Linked DNA regions of Homo sapiens: region 2 is linked to region 1. The links are contacts of gene promoters, found by promoter capture Hi-C in blood cells and fetal thymus (Javierre and others, 2016). All regions are on one chromosome and are shown on one strand. The core of a region is centred on a gene start or on the middle of the fragment in contact, and the rest is flanking DNA. Distances in the headings are between cores, read along the strand shown. Region 1 holds the start of TRPC3 (transient receptor potential cation channel subfamily C member 3). Region 2 overlaps BLTP1 (bridge-like lipid transfer protein family member 1).

Evidence for each region. The method cuts DNA at HindIII sites, captures the fragments that hold promoters and counts their contacts. A CHiCAGO score of 5 or more calls a contact.
Region 2: a contact is called between a fragment that was not itself captured here and the fragment with the promoter of TRPC3 in region 1, in 3 of 17 cell types (naive CD8 T cells, naive CD4 T cells and non-activated CD4 T cells). The highest score is 5.6, in naive CD8 T cells.

What each region holds. Positions count from the first base shown.
Region 1 is chr4:121,950,169-121,953,632 of GRCh38, reverse strand. TRPC3 (transient receptor potential cation channel subfamily C member 3) reads left to right here and starts at 1,573. Exons shown (of 12, transcript NM_001130698.2): 1 at 1,573-2,167. The coding sequence starts at 1,953. LOC102724158 (a long non-coding RNA gene) reads right to left here and starts at 2,651. Exons shown (of 3, transcript XR_427598.4): 1 at 2,564-2,651. RefSeq lists silencers at 1,713-1,982, 3,253-3,362. The HindIII fragment of the contact is 12,740 bases long and covers 1-3,464 here.
Region 2 is chr4:122,186,006-122,189,469 of GRCh38, reverse strand. It overlaps BLTP1 (bridge-like lipid transfer protein family member 1), which reads right to left. Exons shown (of 88, transcript NM_001384125.1): 7 at 3,248-3,434; 8 at 1,958-2,039; 9 at 1,382-1,575. Among named protein-coding and RNA genes, the nearest start is that of BLTP1, 35 kb to the right of the region's middle. The HindIII fragment of the contact is 852 bases long and covers 1,446-2,297 here.

The DNA of each region.
Region 1 (3,464 bases), core at 324-2,823:
GTATACACAGTGTGGGTAAGGACCAGAGCCTGTGGAAAATCCACTGGGACCCAAGAGGGCTGTCAGACTGGAGGCCACAGCTAACCTAGTTCTTTAAGGAAAAGTCAGTGTAGCAGATGAATGAAGAGAGACATTTCAGTGACAGGAATGCCATAGACAAAGGCAGAGAAATGGGAAAGTATCTAGCATGTCAGTTGATGACTGAGCGTTCAGGGTAACTGCAGTTAGAATGTGTATGAAAAAGGATGGGAGGAGAGATTGAAAACTTGGATTTTAACCTGAAAGTAGTGGGAAGCCACCAGAGATTTTTATAGAGAAAAGTCGTGATCAGACTTTGCTTTAAGCATGGTCTTTCCAGTAGTACAAAGAATGAAACAGTATGGGGAGAGGTGGGCTGCAGAAAGGCTGGATAGCAGGGAGAAGCAGGGGAGCCTGAATTGAGGCGGTGGTACCGGGTGGAGAAGGGCAGTCCTGCTTTAGAGATATTCCAGAGGTGAAACTGAATAGGTCTGCTAACCTACATTGTGAAACCGTTAACACTTGCATATGTACTAACAACTGAAAAGCACTTCCAAACATAAAGCACTATACAATATTTACTTGTTTTTGTTTTTCCTATATTAGATGTATAAATGCTATTGCTTCTTTCAACATATAGACTTGCCAATTTAATACACAATATTTTATTTACTTTTTAAGAATTAAATTCAAAGGAGCTACATTTTCTTGTGTTTTGCTTAAATTTGGGAAGAATTGTTCCTCTAAAAAGTACAGTATAATTGGATACAGTTAAATAAATTTTATCTCATCAGAGCGTGTCCAGTATTTTTGTGATTTTTCCTAGTTGGACTTGCTAGAAAGCCGTCTATTTGAAGCAAGGGAAAGTCTGGAAGAACACACTCTTCTGGATCTAATCTAAGTTTTCTCACTACCCACCTATCATGAGTACCTTTTTCAGTCTCTCTAGGCCAAGGGTTTCTTATTTAAAAGGACCAAGAGACTCCTTGATCCCTAAGATTCCTGCTAAGATTCTGTACCTCTTTCCTCCCAAAAGAATGACTGGTCTTGAATTCTAAAATGCAATTTTTGTGAGTGTGTTTTAAAAAGAAGACTGCATTTCGCTGAAAAATCTTCCTTGGAAAGTATATAAATCTTATTAGACGCCTTTGAGAGTCATTAAAAGAACTGAAGCATCATGCACGTTTAAAACATTACCAGGCTGGATGGAGTACGAAGGCACTCAGGGGAAGGTACTTAAACCTCCGTAGGTTCAACCAAGTCTTACCGGGAGTAACCCAACGAACAAGTGATGCTTTTTGAGACAAATTTGGAGAGTTGGCTGCAGGAAAATTAACAAGCCAGTGGATTTCCTTTTCCCTTCCTTAGGAAACTTGTTTCTGTAGATGCAAAAAGGGCCCTAGATCCTCTGGAAGAGAAAGAGAGTGGGGAGGGGAAGTTTCTCTTTCTTTACTCCCCACCTGCGGTCTGTCTGATTTCCTCTCCAGCTCTGTCTGATAAGGAATTGATTCTCCCCCTCCTCTTCCCCCTCCCGCCCTCCCTCTCCTTCTCCCTGAGTAACGATGCTGTCCTAGCAAGTGATGCTGTCGGAGACAGGAGACGGGCGCCGAGGAGGCATCGCCGCCGCCGCGGGGCTGGAGAGCCTCTCCCAGCACCAGAGCCCCGCTCGGCCCCGGGCTTCCTCGTCGCAGCCACGGCCGCGGCAGCTGCTCCCACGGTTTGATGGTGGGCGGCGGCAGCTCGGCTTCGGCGCTAGCCTCTAACTGCTGGATCGCGGGCCGCGACGCTCTCCGCTCCTGCCTTCCCGCCCTGGGCCGCCCGGGGCCCCGGAAGCCGCGGGAGGTGGTGAAGGGGCGCCGCGGGAAGACTGCACTGCCGCGAAGGCGGAGGAGGCCGGCAGCCGGCACCCCCACACTCGGACCGCAGCCGGCGCGATGTCCACCAAGGTCAGGAAGTGCAAAGAACAAGCAAGGGTGACCTTCCCGGCGCCGGAGGAGGAGGAAGACGAGGGCGAGGACGAGGGCGCGGAGCCGCAGCGCCGCCGCCGGGGCTGGAGGGGCGTCAACGGGGGGCTGGAGCCGCGCTCGGCGCCCTCGCAGCGGGAGCCGCACGGCTACTGCCCGCCGCCCTTCTCCCACGGGCCGGACCTGTGAGTACCGGGCCCGGCCGCGGCCCGCGCCTCGGAGGGCGGTGCCGGGCGGGGGGCGGGAAGGCGCGCGCCGGGCGGCTCCACGTCGAGCCCGGGACCTCCGAGACCCACATGGTACGGCCAGGCAGTTCGATTTGGAGTGATTTGGAGGGGACAGACCTCGGCCGGAGGCTCGCCCCCTCGGTCCCGCGCGGTGGAGGGACACAGGGGCTGCCGAGTGCGTGGCAGGGGCTCTGTCCAGGCTCAAGCACACGGAACAGCCCGCAGGCGGGCACACTGACTTCAGACAAGCATCCTGGCGAGCAGCCACTCCCTGTATTAGAGCCGAGGAGCTCGCACGACTGCTGCCAGGGCTGGGCACCCCTTGGAAGACGGACCCCGGGGTCCCGAGCTTACCCAGGGAGGCCGAGGAAGGGGAAGATGTGCACAGACCCAGGCGCGCACTTGAACCCTGAACTCCTCCCGGGCGTCCCAGCGTGGACTTGGGTCCCCTCCGACGCTCTGGGACGTCGGGGGCGGGGGCAGAGAAGTGGGGAGTAGGGAGGGGACAGTGCGATACAGGGTGTGGGTTGAAGGTTTGCCCAGGCGCCTCGTCTCTCTGTGGTTCAGTCACATTTGGGGTAAAACTGGAACCGAAGCCCTATAGGGTCCCCTGAGGGAGAGAGTGGGCATCGGGCAGCCGGGGAACCGCTTTAGTGATAACTTTGACTGCGGTTCCCAGGCGGTGCAGGGTCAGCGGCTCGCGCCCCGGCGCGCGGGCTCTCTTTTTCTCTTTCTTTCTTTCCCTCTCTCTCTTTCTAAACGAAGGAGCGGTCGGCGCGCTAATGCATGAGAAAGAGCAACTTTTCTTAATTTCCAATCTTGGAGACAGCTTTTAATCAGTGCGAGACGCAGAGAAGATAAAAAGAGGGTGATCGGTTTCACAGGGTGAGATGCTCTGTATTTTTTCTGTCACGTAACACTGGGAGTGCCGCAGGGTTTACTGTCTTTTTTAGGAAGAACGCTCAGAACTAGGTAGAGAACTTGGGGTCGGATGGTGGCGGGCGGCGCAGACCGGCTGAGCCGGGGAGGTGGTTCTCCAGGATGGGGACCGAGGTTCTGCAGCGCCCCCTGCTGCCGGCGAGAGGCCCACCGCCCGAGGCCGAGACCTCCGGGATGACCCCTGCATCCCCAGGATCGCGCGCTGCTCCGCGCGCGCAGAGTCTGCGCCTGGTCAGGCTGGACCTGCCGGTAGAACACAGGAACACAATCAGTGGCTGGGAGTAGATCCCATAGGGAAGAGTTCTGATTTTAAATG
Region 2 (3,464 bases), core at 622-3,121, 240 kb before region 1:
CTATTTCCATGAATATTTAATCAACTTGAAATAAATCTAGAGCAAACATCGTGAACTCTAACTCTGGAATGAACGTTTTTCTACCATCAATAATTTCCCAGAAACCATTAATCTTTGCTTGCTTTGATTAAACAACTTTTCTCTTTGTCATACATACATCACAATATCTTCTTGCATATCAAAATTAACTTCTCAATCATTAGATGATATTAAATGCAAAAACTTGCAATTTTTTTCTAAATATGTATTAAATCACAAAGCTTAATGTTTAATATCATCATGTAATCTCCACACTTAAGTGAAAAATACAATTTTAAATCTTTTTATACAAATTATTAATAGCAAGACACTTTTTCATCTTACTCTCTATAATTTTTCAAAAAAATCCTGATTTATTCAGTATTATACCTTCACTCATACACATTTGTGTGCACAGTCCACATTCCAGAAGATTCTTAACCAAGTCCATGATCTTGAAGAGTGAGGCCAGGAAGACCCACAGTCACCGCGATACTCAAAAAGGAAAAACCCTCTTTCTATCATTCTAGCCAAATCCTGGAAAATCGAATACCAGGCCAGCCAAGAGTTACAACTAAAAAGGAATAATCATGTTTCACATAAAACCTCATAAGGTACCTACACACAAAGATAAAAGCTGAGACACTGTACTGAAAACTCTCCATATGAACACTTAAATTCAACCAGAGTATCCTTTACACACACAAAAATTGAGAAAAAACATAAAAATCACAAGAGCCCATCTCCCACTCAGCATCCCATCACACTGAGTCTAGTGTACATCATTCCTATAATGAGTCTTATAAATACAAGCAGCTACTTCACTGAAGGAAAAAAAAAAAAATGGAAAGCTAGATGGAAAACTGACAGTTTGGAACTTAAAGAAATGTCAAGTGGGTCTCAAAACTATACCATCTTAACTTCACCAAATTTTCCAAGAGTAATTTCGATTCAATTTTCGACTTTCAATAACTCAAAGTGGTATTCCACTGCAATGAATCTGTTCAATTTACTCTTTAGTCACATCTTCTAGAAACAAAAACCTACCTGTAATGTGTATCTCCTAACATACAAACAGGAACTAATTGCACAAAGTAAGTTTCCAAAATACAATTAGAAGGAGAAAAGGATAAAAAAATTATAGTTATAATCATGCAGAAAAATATTTAAAATTAGAGTTTATCACTGGATAGCATATCCATTTATCCTATAAAGAAGGACTACATTGTTAACTGCTTTAATAGAGAAATATACCTAATTTTTGTACAACTTGTAGCAAAAAAAGTAAAAGGATGTTAAAGTTTCTAGCTGTATCTGTATTACCTATAAGAAGTTTTTTATTATTTTTATAAGATTTTCTTACTCATCATTTTGAAGACCAACATATCTTGGACTAGGAACAAGCATGACTCGAACATTTTCAAGCTTTCCTTTCACAATATGCATGAATTGGTCAAGATGACTTGAAGGTGGTTTTGTAGTATAAGTTAAGAAAGCATCATCAAAGTTGATGCACAGAGTTTGCGGCTGGTAGTGATTTCCAAAGGCCAAACGTCCCTAAAAAAAAAAAAATAAACAGATAAGAGATATTATATCATGCTATTCTGGCCATATTTCTTTCTTTAGCTAAACTAATAACAAACATTTTCAAACAACAGCTTAATGATTCCACTTTAGGACTATGTGCTATTTAAACTATTCCACTGGTCAATTTAAACCAGTAGTTAAAAGAAAATTTAAGTACTTAAAGAAATTTAAACACAAATTTATCAGAAAACAGTATTTTAAAATAATTATTTCACTCACACTATACAGAAATGGGAACTAAAAAAAACTCCACAAAACTATTTAATTTTCTTACATTAAAATCATATTTGCAAAAATTAAAAGTTCTACATTACTACCCCATGAAACAGTAATTGTAGCAGAATTTACTTACTGTGCTCACATTGACCTTTATGACTGGAATAAGTGATCTCCATGAAGATGTGGGGTCTTGGGATTCTGTTTTTACTTTAACTCTAACAAGAAAAAATAAAACTGACATGAATAAGAAAACCTTAAATACCTGAGGACATAGTTCACTTCCTCACAATACCATACCTCACAGTTTCAGTTTACCTTTCCAAATACATCTAGTGACTACTTCAGTAAACAGAACAATGATCATCTGAAGGAATACTAATATTCCTACAGCTGTCTACTGGAGCACTCTTATCATATCAACTTTTAGATGGATAAGCTATTATAACAAAACTATGTTTTTAGAATAACAAGCTTTAATGACAAAACTATAAGGGATGATATGCTGTCATTACATCTACCATTTTGCCCATTATGTTACTATACGACATTTTATAAGACAGCCAAAGTTATTATTAAACATAAATGATTAAGGTACAAGTCACTTTGATGTTTGTCTACTGTTTTAAGCACTTCTGAAAACAATCCAGTTGCTCCTCTTCCTTCCCTCACCCAAATGCCTTGTGCCAAATTAATTTTCCCTTAATGAAATGAAAATGATAAGCCAAGAGTAAGAAAACTGGCCATATACAAAGTACACAAATGTTAAGAAATCAAAATTTCACAGCAATTCACTAAACAGATAGATAATATATAAATAAATAGGTGTGGCTATGTCCCAATAAAACTCTATATACAAAACAGGCAGTGGGCTAGACTTGTGCTATAGTATAGGTCTAAGTTTGCTGATCCTGTTCCAGAATAATTTTGTAGGTAGACCTACATACACAGATATGTATTTTTAAAAGCAGACCTACATATACAGATATGGAACAATCTTACAGACAAACTGCTACATAAAAAGCAAATTACAGAACAATACACACTATATGAGGCACATATTCTAAACACATATGTTTAGAAACACACAGAACAAAATCATGTATTTTATAAGCACCTTAAATATGTATGTATACATTTATGTACATACATTCAAAAGGATAAAAACTAAATTGATAACATTAGTTATTAATACGGAGAAAAGTAGGATTTGTGTGCAAGGGAATAGAACGGGACTTTTTTAGATTACATATTCTATATTATCTCAATTTCTAAAATAATTATATAATTATTTATGTTACTAAAAGTTTCAGTTAATTTGCAAAGAAATATTAGGCTCTGTTTAGGTGCATAGCCTCAATGATATTCTAATAAAGGCAAATGTTTAAATGCTAGAGTTTAATAAAATTCAAGTATGATACTGAACCTTTCAATTTTCGATTGGGTTCTTGTTCTTCCAATTTCCCGTGTTTTATCATCATCTTTCTTAGGTGGAATTATTGTTGGCTCCAAACCAAACAACTCTTGAAGGCGTCCATAAAGATCCGAGCGATTATAGACATGAAATTCAAAGTCATTGACTGTGATGTATAACCTGGTTTCTGCCTTTGGATCTAAAGACACCAATTACAAAAAAATTTTTA